Linked DNA regions of Homo sapiens: regions 2, 3 and 4 are each linked to region 1. The links are contacts of gene promoters, found by promoter capture Hi-C in human tissues and cell types (Jung and others, 2019). All regions are on one chromosome and are shown on one strand. The core of a region is centred on a gene start or on the middle of the fragment in contact, and the rest is flanking DNA. Distances in the headings are between cores, read along the strand shown.

The links. Contacts are between HindIII fragments. The study calls those that stand out against the background at their distance.
Region 2: a fragment that was not itself captured here is called in contact with the fragment with the promoter of LURAP1L in region 1 in 1 of the 25 tissues and cell types used here (dorsolateral prefrontal cortex).
Region 3: a fragment that was not itself captured here is called in contact with the fragment with the promoter of LURAP1L in region 1 in 1 of the 25 tissues and cell types used here (hippocampus).
Region 4: a contact is called between a fragment that was not itself captured here and the fragment with the promoter of LURAP1L in region 1, in 3 of the 25 tissues and cell types used here (dorsolateral prefrontal cortex, hippocampus and mesenchymal stem cells).

The regions. Positions count from the first base shown.
Region 1 is chr9:12,773,113-12,776,841 of GRCh38, forward strand. It overlaps LURAP1L (leucine rich adaptor protein 1 like), which reads left to right and starts at 1,908. Exons shown (of 2, transcript NM_203403.2): 1 at 1,908-2,915. The coding sequence starts at 2,604. The region is part of intron 2 of LURAP1L-AS1 (LURAP1L antisense RNA 1); the gene reads right to left. The HindIII fragment of the contact is 5,707 bases long and covers 1-2,484 here.
Region 2 is chr9:13,282,452-13,286,180 of GRCh38, forward strand. No RefSeq gene overlaps it. Among named protein-coding and RNA genes, the nearest start is that of MPDZ, 4.6 kb to the left of the region's middle. The HindIII fragment of the contact is 5,710 bases long and covers 1-3,729 here.
Region 3 is chr9:13,134,342-13,138,070 of GRCh38, forward strand. It overlaps MPDZ (multiple PDZ domain crumbs cell polarity complex component), which reads right to left. Exons shown (of 47, transcript NM_001378778.1): 29 at 3,616-3,729; 30 at 2,371-2,462; 31 at 1,751-1,841. Among named protein-coding and RNA genes, the nearest start is that of MPDZ, 140 kb to the right of the region's middle. The HindIII fragment of the contact is 5,271 bases long and covers 1-3,729 here.
Region 4 is chr9:13,066,379-13,070,107 of GRCh38, forward strand. No RefSeq gene overlaps it. Among named protein-coding and RNA genes, the nearest start is that of SNORD137, 96 kb to the left of the region's middle. The HindIII fragment of the contact is 4,557 bases long and covers 1-3,729 here.

The DNA of each region.
Region 1 (3,729 bases), core at 658-3,157:
AACAAACAAAACACATGCTCAAGAACCAAAGTAAAAAAAAAAAGTTTTCAAATAGTTTGAGTAAGAAATGTCCTCAGATTAAACCACATAAAGCAGTTATGGTAGCATTAACAACAATCTATTATAGATCCATAAACATTCAATGATTTTAATATATTCTGAAAACTAGCTAAAGCATCATTCAAAATGTCTTCATTTTAAACTAAAATGTCAATAGGCATTTAACCGAAAAAAAATTTAAAGCTTGACATACTAAGCTTTCCTTCAAAAGTTTACATTTTTTTATATTTCACTGGAACAAAGTTACTTTGCATATACATCACACTTTTACTCTCAGAGGAGTTTCTCCTGCAGACTTCTTTAAAAAACTATATACATATATACATACATATACGTATATATTAAATTATCCTCAGCCTCAAATACTGATTTTGCAGTCTGTGATTCATAGCAGAAGAGGTGTCCCATTTTTCTATATTGACACACGATAATTTGACATTTGTTTTTTACTGACCAATTTCTAGCTAGATATTTCATCTATAAACTGCACTTAGCCAGCCTTATGCTGAACTTTGTAAGGGTTTTGTAATAATAAACTGTTCTTGACTGAAACACAAGCCTTTCATAATTACATGCCACAGTGCAATTCTTATGCAACGAGCTTGTGTTTTTCCAAATTTAGGACCAAGCATGTAGTTTTATCAGTTAGCTGGGATTTGGTCTTGTTTTCCCTTGATTCTGTAAGTGGTAGTTCTAACTTTGAAATGGGTCATCTAACTTATAACTATTTTCTTCATTTCTTTTTAAAAGGGAGAAATAGCATGCAAATTTCTGGCATGTTGATAGAAAGTTCAGCATTTTTTCCCTGACATGAAATATTTCATTTAGAATGCGTATGTTTCCTCTACGTATAAGGTTTCCTAGAGTCAGATATGATAAAAACAAACTCTGAGATGTATATACCTATGTTCCTACAAGTGTAAAACCTGAATGATGTCTCTGGAAATGGAGCCTCGGAGTGACCAGGAACACAAATACTTATATGTCACAGAAATAGAGGGGCACATACTTTGAAATATTTCAATGGAAATCAAAAATTGTAGTTTACTGGATTGAAATTAGTATCCTCTACTTAAACATTTTTGACACAAACTCAATGCTGATTCAGATCTGTAATCCATGTAGCTCATAATAACTTACTTGGTAGAAGTATTTCAGATTAATGAATTGTACAATTGTACAAATTAATAAATTGTACAATTGTTCAACTATACAATTAATTGTACAATTTGTATAGTTGAAAAAATCTATAAATTAATTTATAGATAAATTATCAAAGAAGACAACATTTTAAATAGTTATTCCCAATATTTTTTCTTCCATAATTAAAATAAAAGTAAGTATCTCAGCAATTGCTTGTTCTTAAAATTTCACTGCTATCTCAGCAGTCATGTAAGTTATTCTGGCTATTTAATTTTTCACTTTTGTTTGCATACTGTAACAGTTGGTAGGATAATTAATTTTGATTGTACATTTCCATTGAACTTTTGATGAAATTGTTTCACTCTTTTTATTAGAATAAAATTATTAGGAAAGTCTTCTAAAGAGAGGTTTTCTGTTTGTTTTTCCTTTGAGGAAGGTAGAGAGATGGGAAACGAAGACACCAAATATAAAGTCATTCCTCTATCTCTCATTTTAAAACCTGTTTTAAAGGTTGTAGCTAGTCAGGAAAACTGAAAAATCAACTGGTATTCCTAACTAAAGCAGGGCTTTGAAACTCTGCTACTAGCGACAGGGTTGGGAAAATTCCGGTTGCTCTTCTTGTCTGTGATATACGGTAGAAGGGTTGGTCCTGGTTTGGTCCACCTGCCAGCGGAGTTTAAAGTTTCCGAGGCTCAGAGGAACACAATGACTTGGATCAAACAGCCTAAATGGGAAGAAGGACATTTTTGCTGCATCAAGGAAGCCGTTAAACTCCTGCTAAGCTAACTAGCTCTTTTTTATGGGTCCATGCACACGACCGAACTCCTCTTTCACTGACCAGAGATTATTTCTGACAACCCAGGATATCCCGAAAGCTTGGAGGCATATGGCTGGAAAATGAAACGACCCAGGACATCGTTTCTGGCTGCATCATTATTTTGTGTCGCGTAGTACCAGATGGGCAGTCAGTGAGCGGCGCAGGGATGTGAACGGACGGTTTTATAATGTGAAAATTTTCCCTTGGTAAAGCTAAAACAGATTTAATTTCCCTCTCTTTTCTTTCACTACTTCCCCCTCTTTATTCCCCCTCTGTCTGCAATATCAGTGAACTCAACTTTGCAGTGAGGTGGCCAAAAAGAGAGAGAATGAGGAGATCTTGATCATCTTAGTGTCGGAGGAGTCGCAGCGGACTGGGAACTGCAGCTGCGACCCCCCGCGTCCTGTGCGGATTTCAGGGCTGATACCGCATAGGCGGTTATGGAAAGGACGGTACACCGGAGCGGCGGAGGATAGAGACCCTGGCCCCCGGAGAGGTCTGCTGATTTCGCAGCAGCCTTCGAAGCCGTGGCTGCCTTTCATCTGCTGCGTTTTATTACTATTATCGCCGTTCCGGAAAAGTCATGGAAGACAGCCCGCTGCCAGACCTCAGAGACATCGAGCTGAAGCTGGGGCGCAAAGTACCCGAGAGTCTAGTGCGCTCTCTCCGTGGGGAGGAGCCGGTTCCCAGGGAAAGGGACAGGGACCCCTGCGGGGGGAGCGGTGGTGGTGGCGGCGGCGGCGGCGGCTGCAGTAGCAGCAGCAGCTACTGCAGCTTCCCTCCCTCCTTGTCGTCCTCCTCTTCGTCCTCCCCAACCTCTGGCTCCCCACGAGGTAGCCACTCTAGCGCCCTGGAGAGGCTAGAAACCAAGCTTCACCTCCTCAGGCAAGAGATGGTGAGTGTGGTGCGCCAGCCGCGGGGGCTGGGACCTGGGCTGGGCCAAAAGATGGGGCGATCTGAGAATGGGGCTGGGAGAGAGGACGGCAGGGGCTGCAGAGCGGAGCGCTGGGCGCGTGGGAAATGCTGGGTGGAGGAATGAGCAGGGGGCGCTCATCCGGAGGCAGCTGCTGCGAGGCTTGTTTACCGCGGACTTTGCTCGGTCACGGTTTGCAAAGACAGCACAGTCGGCTGGCTCCACTCTGTGTACTTTCGGACAACGCGACTCACTGCGCCGGGCTCTATTTAGCTGCCAGCCCGTAGCCTCTTAGGCACCAGCCCGTTGAGAGTTTGCAGTTATTGCACCCATCTAAGGCCTGCTGTGCGCTGTTAACACTTCGGGTAGGTTCAAAAGGTGGCTCAGTCCAATGCACTTACTGCAAAAATACTTCCTGGTTTGCCGGGAGGTGGCGTGGCAGGGTCCTTGCAGCCTTTCCTCCTAGCTCACCCTTCCACCAGTACCGCTCCGCCCTCCTGCCCTCCCTTCTTGGTGCAGCAGCCGCAGCTGTTCCAAGGCCACTGTCGAGCAGATTCTCCACAGCTGGTTCTGAAAACAATGGCCTACTCGTCCTTGATGTACTTATGAATAGCTTGTTTCACTATTTTGATCCCAGGGAGCAGGTGATCCCCAGGCCCAGGGATCTGCTAAGGACCATCTCCCACCCTTCTCCCTCAAGTCTCAATCTGCAGTTGTTTTCCCTGCTGTTTGCAAACGTTTGCCTGAGCATAGGACAATGAGATAAGTACAAGGTCTAGGAATACTCATTCTGGAA
Region 2 (3,729 bases), core at 431-2,930, 510 kb after region 1:
TATCTACTCAAAACCTTTAACGGCTGCTGAAAAGACAGATCCTGGAAATTAAACTTTTGATCCACCAAAATAACAGAGGATTCTTTTAGTTGCCTGCTGAGCACACAGTCTTCATTCTGCTTTTTAACAGCAGATAGCCAAGACGTAGGTGAGACCCCCATGCTGGGAGATGTTACTACAGAACTGCAGGGTTAGAACTCTATGAACCAAATCCTTTCCCAAGGACTGATTTGGGGTAATCCTAATAGTGGGGTGATGGGCTATTTTTATCACCTTTAGCCAGCAGTGACTCTTATTAATAATGCAGCATTTAAATGCAAACTAGATGGCATGCTTGCCAGTCCCTCTACCTAAGGGATATCTAATATATAACAACTGTGCAGTTTTAGTTTATTATAGTTTGTAGATTTTTTATGTTGTCTACTGGCTGACTGACTTTATGGTTTCAATTTGCCTCAGATGTCTCAATTAAAAGAAGAGTTCAGATAAATTTTTTTTCAGTTTGTTCAATGTTAAAAAGCATTTTAAATAATCCTTAATTTTTTCTCTCCATTGAAAAGAAGTCAAGGTTGAAAAAAGAAGATAAAGAAGAAAGAGAAGAACATTAGGATAATGGATATATATGTGTCTAGGAGAAAGCCATTAGGGGGAGAGAATGACTAAGAGAGAATCCCAGGAATGAGAAAAATGTAAAAATTATTTCTCTTTTGAGAACATACAGAGTAATCTGTCTCTCTTCATATAACAAACTGTTTATAGAGAGATAAAGGCTCTGAAATCTCCAGTGTGTCTGATTAGGCCTCATCTCTCTAAGCATGAAAGAAAGGGCATTGGGAGGTCATGACCTTCTGACCTTGAATTCATTTGCATTTGTACCCACAAAATTCTAACTCTATAAGGAAATTCCAGGAGAAAGCATTGGGGCCAGGTTAATTTTAGGAAGAAACACATCCAAACTGTTCCAGAATCTGTGCCTCAAGTTTATGCCAGCTAGAATGACATTTTGAACTATCTTACAAAATATCTTCCCTGTTATGCATACTCTGAGGGCATAAGTGAGTTATCCAAAAAGAAAATCAAGAAAAACAATAACAATAGTGAAAAGAATTTGTTCAAGTTGCATAGTATCTTTTAGGTAATACTCCCCCTTCATGATGGCAGAAAGAACAGAGGGGAAAAAATTGAGCTATTGAAAACACCACTGAGTCAGTGGATTATGTCTTACCTGAAGCCCACTCCACCTCTTGTCTTTCCACTTGTATGAGCCAATAAATTTTTTTTAGTTCTTAAACTAGTTTGAATTGAGTTTTCTGTTGTTTGTAACTAAAAGCATTCAAACTGATGAAATACACATATTAAGCCATTCACAGTGAGCTAGACAGGTACTTTTAAGTTTCAAGGAACACACTGAGATTACCTCAGTCGGAGCTTATTAAAGGATAACTAGGAATATAAGGAAAACATGAGTTTCCACTGGTGAACAGCCAGGTCTCACAGAAAATGTGACATCTTTCTGGTCACAACACAAACACACAGAAACAAAAGGTCATTTCAGAGGATGCAGCTCTAGAGATGAGATTTTCTTACAGTCTGTGTGATTCTACCATAATTATAATCCAGTATACCTCTGTCCCTATGTATCTAGCTTTTCTTCTTCCTCTAATGTTTGTTTATATTGGGTCCTTGAAAGTCTGGTAATCGTGGATGGTCTGTTTATATTTAATAATGAGGCAGTGAGCAGTGTGGGGCTCTGTGCATACCGCAAGGCTTTGTTGACTTGTACTTCACTTCTGAGAAAGCATTACACTCAGGGGCTCCTCCATTCCAGAATAAAGAAGTCTTTACTCCATAGCCATCTGATGTCTTTTGAGAGGACATTTCTGGATGTTTGCCTGAGAAATAGATGCCTGGCTGCTAGGACTTACATATGGAAGCTATGTGTGCATGCGTGTGTGTCTAGAGTGTGCATGTGGGTGTTTATGTCTGTGTATCTGTGCATGCCTGTGATGGTGGTGATAATGTCGGTTGTTCCAATACCCAGCTTTCGCTCCTGACATTTTACTTCCACTCTCCATTGTACCTAGGATTTCAATGTTACCAAGCTTCTCTGCAGTTTTGGTGGATAGGATAGCTCCCTCCTCTGCTGTAGTATCATAGACCTAGGACACTGCTTCTCAAACTAACTGCAAAGGGTCAGGTGATTTGTTTTTTAACTTCCAATGTGTCACTGACCAATGCACTAAAAATAAATTACTAGAAAAATGACATGCTTGGATGTTGTGTCAGTGTTCAATTGCTATAAAGATTTTTAAAGGTTAAGTTTTAATTTGTGTGTGTGTGGACCAGGCTGCAGACCACACTGTGGGGAGCATTATTCCAGGTGTAATGCATACAGAAACAATGCATCACGCGGATGCTTGTTTAAAATGCAGAATTTCGGCATCACCTCGACCTACTGAATCAAAATCTTCAATTTAACCAGACCCCCAGGTGATTTCTATGCACTTTAAAGTTTTTAGGCAGTTTCCACTCCATCTGTTTTTTGTCTTCCAGGAACGTGCTGCTGTATCGCTACCTAGAAAGCCTTTGCTTCAGAGCTTCAGACAGCTAGCATCTTCTCCTCATTCAAGTCACTGGTCAGATGACACCTCTGTAGAGAAGACGTCTTTGGCTCACCAGTAAGTTAGTAGCCCCTTCTCACCTCACATTGCACTGTATTGTTATCTCTGCAGCATTTATCACTATTTAAAATTGTTGCAGTCTCCCTCCTGTCTCCTACCACCATCCAGCTAGAATGTAAGCTCAATGAGAGCAGAGATTTTGTCTGTCTAATGTCCTGTCCTTTCCCCAGTGCCAGCACAGTGCCTGGCAGGTAATAGGCACTCCATGCTGCCTACACTCTGCTTCTTCGTTCCTCAGGAATTCTGCTCACTCTGAGCTTCTGTGTATTGCTTTCTCTGTATGTCTCTGAGTCTGTAATAGGAAGCCCAACTCAAACTGGCTTATAAAATTAAAAAGATGTTGGCATATGTAATAGGAAAGGTACAGAGTGAATGCAGTGATTAGGTCTAGTTCAGTGAGGGTGCAGGCCCCAGCTCTCTCTGATTCTTCTGCAATAATCAGAAAGAACTTCTGATTCTTCATGTGTCAGCTTATGGCCAAGCTGATCACTAGATAACCATCTCAGTTCCAGCTCTCAGATGCACAGAGAGTTATGTCCAGAGACCATCCATTGCAATCTCTCTCTTTTTAAAGAGTAACTCGGCCAAAAACCTCCAACAGTATTCCTTCAGCATTCCTTAGGCTGAATTGGATCATAGGCCTGTTCTAAACATATATGCACGTGGTATAATTACAAGCAATAAAATGCGCAGATCTGAAGTGTACAATTCAATAAGTTTTGACAATTATATACGCCCCCCATAGACAGTAACCAAACCATGATGTAGAATGGTCCCATCACCCCAGAAAGTGTCCTTGTGTCCTTTCCAATCAACCAGGAGTAGTAACAGTGCCTTGCCAAGCCATATTGAAATCTGAAACAAAACGAACAACAGCAATAGTGATCCTGTCTTTAAGATGTTGATGTTTTATTCATTGTGGATTTTTTACATTTTTTTTAAATATTACATTAAAATATGATTCCTCTTGATTACTGGGGTTGTTTGGTATTCCCTCCTTTAATTTTGTGCCCAGGAAGACGCCTCATTCATCTCACTTGCCTCTCCC
Region 3 (3,729 bases), core at 382-2,881, 360 kb after region 1:
AAAATACTCCATTTCCTTAAGAGACATATTTAGTACAACTAATATGAAAAGAAAATATATTACCTTATAACCTAATTATCTTAAATAACCACGTGGCTTAGTGGAACGTTAGGAGCAGCCGGAATGAGACAATGATTTGTACATCTATCTTATGTATACATAAGCTCTATGTTTATATATTCATTTAGGAAAGAATGTTTCTCTTCCTACAGGTACCCCCACTGATAATCACCAAAGTTCCTCTAATTTTAAGCTTTTCATTCTCTACTAACTCCTTTTATTCATCATACACATGTATCCAAAGCTTTCCTAAATCAAAACAAAACCACTCTCCCAATTCTCTGTCACCCTCTAGCCACTGCCTCTCTCTCTCCTTGACTTCTTGTCCATCATTTGCTTTCTCAAAAACCACTAACAGTCTCCTAGTTACCACACCCAAGGGACTCTTTCTACTCATCTTCTCACTGGATTCTTGCTACATGGCAGCATGTAGAGCTGTGGAGTGTACCCTTGAAGGACACTCTTCTCCGCTGCTCTGCCACATGCCCTCCTGGTTCTTCATAGTCTCTGATCTCTTGGTTAGCCTTCCTCCTTACTGTTGCTACCACATGATTCTGCCCTTGGCCCTCTTTCTCTCTAAATGCTCTCTGTAGCAAGCACCTCAGCCTCCATGGCTAAGAAATGCCAAATCTGCATATACAGGAAATCATCTCTAAACTGGAGACCAAATGTCCCAATGTACATTTTTACCAGGCTATCCAACAGGCACTTCGTTCTTAACCTGCCCCAAATAGAATGTACCATATTTTTGCAAATATCTTTCTGTATTTTCTATTCAGTAAAAGACAGCCATCCCTCATGTCACTAAGTCAGATATCTGAAAACCTTGTATATCCTACCTGTTTTATTCTCCAGTCCAAAGAGCAGTATCTGGTATAAGGCAGAGTACTCAGAAAATATTTGTTGGATAAACACATCTTCAACCACTCATTTTTCCTCAGTGAGTACATTTAGTTGGGGATGAAGTATTATCAATTTGGGTCTTAAACATCTGATGTAACCATTCCCTCTTCCAGCTTTAGTTCAGGTCCTTGTTAACTGTTTCCTGAATTATTCCAATAATTATCTTACTTCCTCTAACCTCTCTCCCCTGCTACCTCTGATTTTTCTCTACAGTACTGCCAGAGAAATTTTTAACTAAACATTTCTCATTCTTTGAGCTCCACACTGCCTCAAAGACAAAGCTGGCACATGTTGGCCTATCAATGTATCCCATGATCTGACCCTGTCCCCTTTAACATTGACCCTTTCCCCACCAGCTTCCATTCCCTGCCCCTCATTGCTCAGTGATGCTCTACAATTTAGCTTCCTGCATTGGCCAAAGTCTCCATGCCATTCCTCACTCCATGCCCTCCGCTTGCAACATTTTTGCCCCCCAAATCTTCCAACATACACTTCATATGTAACCTTCCATATAAAGTTTTATCCTCAATTTCTTTTCAGAGGCAGAACTGATAACTCTTTTCCTACCCTCACTATTCCCTAGGCAGACTACAAGTACTCTTCACATAAGTGGTATGCTTATTTCCATGAGTGTCTTCTTATACTAGGATGTACACTCCTTGAAGGCCAAGGCTATAACTTATCTACCTCTAATATCCCTCTCTAAGTGTTATGTAATTGTTGATTGAATTAATAAGGCTCACATCAATCAAGTCTTCCCAGAGAAACAAACATAAGTTACATATACCTCCTTATTTTGAAGATTTTCTGAGTTAGAAGGCAAAGGTTCTACTGCATTTCCAGGACATACGGCCATCTGATTCACTGCATCTTTATTTCTAAAAGCAAAAAAACAACAACCTATTATAACATCATGGTATTATTTTCATTCTCTTACTTCAAGAGTCAGAAGGTTATTAGAGAAAATTATTTAACCCCCAAAACCTGGAACTGTGACACTTACAAATTTACAAACGTTTTCTTTTTTTTTTTTTTTTTTTTTTTTGAGACAGAGTCTCTTTCTGTTGCCCGAGCTGGAGTGTAGTGGCACAGTCTCAGCTCACTGCAACCTCCGCCTCCCAGGTTCAAGTGATTCTCCTGCTTCAGCCTCCCTAGTAGCTGGGACTACAGGTGCGTGCCACCACGCCCGGCTAATTTTTTTTTAGTAGAGACGGGATTTCACCATGTAAGCCAGGATGGTCCCGATCTCCTGACCTCATGATCCGCCCGCCTCAGCCTCCCAAAGTGCTGGGATTACAGGCATGAGCCAGCATGCCCGGCTACAAATGTTTTCTTTTCATTCAAAAGAACTCAGAGAAGAAATGCTAACAAAAAGTATTTGGTAAACTAGCAAAAGAAAATGATCACCTGATAAAAATTATTTTCACTTTAGAAGGGGCACATTTAATGATTGATGAGGCATTCTGATGACTTCTTCCATATAAAATCTGACCATTGATCTGTGAGAAATAAATATCATTAGTTGGGCCTGAAATCTTAGTATCATAAAGTTTTATCATCCTTCCTCATTAATGAAAAGCACATTTTTTCTTCCTTTAAAATATATTTTATATTAAATGTTATATATTTTCCTCCCCAAAACATGAAACTGACTTTTCATGGTGAATAAAGAATAGCTCATGTTTAAAGCCAGCATTAAAATAATGCAAATGAAGTCTGACATCCATGAACTGCTGATAAAGAGGCACCACTTGGACCAACTGCAGGAGAGTAGACAACAAATTTCCTGGCAGGCACTGGGCTCCCAGCATGCTCTGCACAAAACGAGGGCTCTGTGGAAAAACTTGCGACCTGCAAGACCATCCTGGGAAGTTCCTTACTGTCATATTTCCCACTTAGTCTCAAAACTCAAGCCCTGGAAATAGGTCACTGGGAGAAGAAATGCTAGGTAGATTCAGGATTTAGGCAGCAAACTGTGCCTAAACAGCACAGTGCCTAACGCAAATGACTGGCTCAGTCATTTGGTCATTTAGCCACTGCCTGACTGAGCCTCCTGTGTCTATAGGGAAACATACTCAGCATGAGAAGAGTATAAAGGCAGTATAAAATCATGTGGATCCCAGCCCAGGAGGGGCAAGGACAAACAACACAAGCAAATAAAATTCTAAACCCTATAAAGTATGGTCCACAAATTTATTTTGTTCGGCAGGCTGAGTTACTGCTTGTTCTTTAGCCTTAACCTTGACCCCACCCCACCTCACCCTCATCACTTCTCCCATTAGTGATTCAAGTTCCAGAATGTCCAGTGGGTCAGCCTCTGGGGAATGACTGGTCACTTGGCTTTTCAAAAACTCCTAATAAAAATGCAGCACACAAAACAAATGCTTTTGAAGTGTAAGCTTTATTACTATCTTGGGGCAAAAATTGTTTCTGGTGCTACACAGTCATGACCTTTTAATGGAAGTTAATGGGAACATGGACTCTACTTGGTAGAAATTTGGTTTAGAGCCAGATTTGCTGCAATGCATCTATTTTATTAAGCAAGCAATGGCTTTCTCAGTCACTATAAGGTATGGGTGATTTTCTGGAAACTGACAGTTCCATTACCCTTATAAAACAAGAATAAATTCAAAATTTTCCACAAAAACTTACCTCTAGAAGCTCATCTGCAATTTGCAATCGACCATCTTTTCCTGCAGCTCCATTTGGATCAATCCCCACTATGAAGACACTCATCCTGGATCGGTCTTTGTTCCCAGCAAGACT
Region 4 (3,729 bases), core at 455-2,954, 290 kb after region 1:
GTGATTTCAATTTTCATGTTTTGTGGCAGCATTTTTGATCAATATTCCTTGGCTGCTATCTATTTTCTCTGTTCCTTTTCTGACTTTTTAAATATCTCTAATTAAATATATATAATATATATATAAACCTTATATATAATATATAATAAACTTTAGTTAACTAGTAGAGGATAAACCTGCTTCTGCTTCACTCAAAGATAACTTTATATATATGTATATATGGTTTATATATTACATAATTTGCATCAGTTATCCTGGGTAATAACTGCCGGAGAGATGGGAGTATATATATATGTGTGTGTATAGATAGGTAGATAGATAGATAGATAGATAGATAGATAGATAGATAGATAATCTTTGAGTGAAGCAGGTTTATCCTCTACTAGTTAATTAAATAAAGTTCATGCATTGGAGACAAGTATTCTAAGGAGAATTTTTTTTCTGTTTTATACTAAAGTTAAAAGCTTTATGGCATAGATACTTTATGGCACAGGGCTGAGCGTGTGTGTGAGTGCGTGTGTGCTTCTTTATGGTATAAAATAACTTTCAGGGAAGATCTGTCACTAGTCCAATTACCCGCTTCTGTTGTTCAAAAGAAGGCATTGCTCCTAGGAGGTATGTCAATTTTGGAGAATTCCAGCTGTTTAGTTTCACAGCCCCACATAGAAAATCTAGGTTTCCCTTGGCATCCTTATTTAACCAGCACTGCATCTGGCAATCCTTCTTAGATACTGTGATTTAAGATTTAAAAAAAAACACACACACACACACACACACACACACAAAAAAACCTTCCTACTGTCATCAGAGATAAAATCTGTGTCTGTATGCCATTATACTTGTTCCTTTGGGGTGATTTCTAAATCAAGGGAGGAAAATAAAATGAACTTGATTCCATCATCTAATACGTGGAAGCTCCCTCTTTACAGATAATTTGTATTTTTATTTATATTTCATTTTATTTAAAAAAATCTTACTTTTTAAATATAGAAAAAAATCACACCCACTCACATATAGTCCATTGATCTTTGACAAAGAAACAAAGAAAATTTAATAGAGAAAGGTTTTTCTTTTCAACAAGTGGGGCTGGAACAGTTGGGCATTCATGTGTAAAAATATAGATCTAGACACAGACCTTACACCTTTCACAAAAAAAACTCAAAATGAATTATAATCCTAAATACAAAATGCAAAACAATAAAACTTCTAAGAAATAATATGGGAGAAAATATAGGAAACATTGGGTTTGGCAATAAGCTTTTAGATACAACACCAAAAAAATAAAAAAAATGCAAGAAAAAATGATAAGATAGACTATCAAAAAAATAACTTCTGCTCTGTGAAAGACACTGTCAAGAAAAACATCTTGAGAAAAATCAAGACACAGACTGGGAGAAACTTGAAAATAAGCAAAAGATCTGAACAGACATCTCATCAAAGAAGATGTACATACATCAAACAAGCACATGAAAATACTTTCAACATCACATCATTGGGAAAATTGTAAATTAAAACAACAATGAGAGAGCCAGGCATGGTGGCTCATACCTATAATCCCAGCACTTCAGGAAGCTAAGGTGGGAGGATCACTTGAGCCCAGGAGTTCAAGATCAGCCTGGGCAGCATGGCGAGACCCCTATCTCTACAAAATTTTAAAAACTAGCCAGGTATGGTAGCTTATGACTGTGGTCCCAGATACTCAGGAGTCTGAGGTAGAAGGATTGCTTGAATCCAGGAGGTCGAGGCTGCAGTGAGCCATGCTTGTACCACTGCAATCCAGCCTGGGAGACAGAGCAAGAGTCTGTTTTTTTTAAATAAAAACAAAAAAACAATGAGATGCCACCACAAACCTATTAGAATAGCTAAAATCTCAAACACTGACAACACTAAATGTTGGCAGGGATGGCGAGTAACAGAAACTCATCTGTTGCTGGTGGGAATGCAAAATGGTAACAGCACTTGGAAGAAAGTTAGGCAGTTAGTTTCTTATAAAACTGAACTTACTCTTGCCGCATGATCCAGCATTCACACTTCTAGGTATTTACTCAATTAGTTTGAAAACTTACCCACACACAAAAGCCTACATGTGAGCATTTAGAAGCTTTATTCATAATTGCCAAAAACTGAAAGCAACCAAGACATCCCTCAACAGATAAATAAATCGACAAGCTATGGAACATCTTAACTGAGCTATCATGCCACCGAAAACCTAGAGAAACCTTAAATGCCTATTGTCAAATGAAAGAAGCCAATCTTAAAAAGTCACATGACATGATTCTAATTATATGACATTCTAGAAAAGTCAAAAAGCTACAGAAACAGCAGAAGGATCATGGTTACCAGAAGGGGAAGAGATGAATAGAGAAAGCATGGGATATTTCTAAGGCGATGAAACTGCTATTTATGATGCTATAACGTGGGTAAATGCATTATACGTTTGTCAAAACCCATAGAACTGTCCAACATAAAGAGTGAATCTGCATGTAAACTATGGACTTCAGTTAATAATAATGCATCAATCAGATTTATTAATTATAAAAAAATACATAATGAACAATATTAATGCGGCCGGGTGCGGTGGCTCACGCCTGTAATCCCAGCACTTTGGGAGGCCGAGGTGGGCAGATCACAAGGTCAGGAGATCAAGACCATCCTGGCTAACATGGTGAAAACCCACCTCTACTAAAAATACAAAAAAATTAGCTGGGCGTGGTGGCAGGCGCCTGTAGTCCCAGCTATTCGGGAGGCTGGGGCAGGAGAAGTGAACCCGAGAGGCGGAGCTTGCAGTGAGCCGAGATCGGGCCACTGCACTCCAGCCTGGGTGACAGAGCGAGACTCCATCTCAAAAAAAAAAAAAAAAAAAAAAAAAAAATCAGGGACTTTGACAGAGGAGATAAGATGTCAAGGGAAGAAAAATGGGGAATAATAGTGGAAGTAAATAAAAGGGAAGTAATACCTGTTTGTTTATAAGGCATTTTACATCTGGTGAAATAAAACTGTTTCCAGGTTAAATTTAAATTTATAATATGCATGCTAACATTATTTCCTTACAGAATATAAATGACGTTCTGCAACTATAGGAAAATTAATTACATGTATGAAACAATTTTGGGATGATCCACCCCCTGCTTTAGTATGCCCTGAAGGCCAAACTTACATATCCGTCATTCACAAAAACTTCCCTTTTTCATAGATTCTGCTTTCACACTGCCACACCTTCTACACTTTAAGTTGCCCTAGAGTGTCTTTTAAGTCTTCATGAAAAAGACTTCAGACAAATGATTTAGAAATGGATTAATCCAACAAAGGGTGTTACCCAGTGCACGCCTGTGGCTGTATGAAATGCAAGCTAGGACAGAGTTTAGGATGCAGCTTGTGTCTAAGTAACTTAGCTGTCTTTGCTCAGGAATAGTAGACTGAATATCACCGGGAAGAAAAATGTTCTTTTTTGAAAAAAGACAAGGCATTCAGCCATGAAGGCCTGTATCATATGTTGTGTTCCTTAGGATCCAGAAAAAGGTCCCTAACAGAGTTGAAACCCACTGGATTCTTGTGGCTGTGATGTATGTCAATAGTTTTGAGTTCTCTACAAAACTACAGAGACCAAGGTACACTATTGACACTTTCACTCATTAGGAATTACCTGCCTTTTTCTTCTGTCTTATTTCCCCAACTAGATAGTGAATTTCTTAAAGTTAGGAAACATGGTGTCTTTTTCCTTTTTTTTTT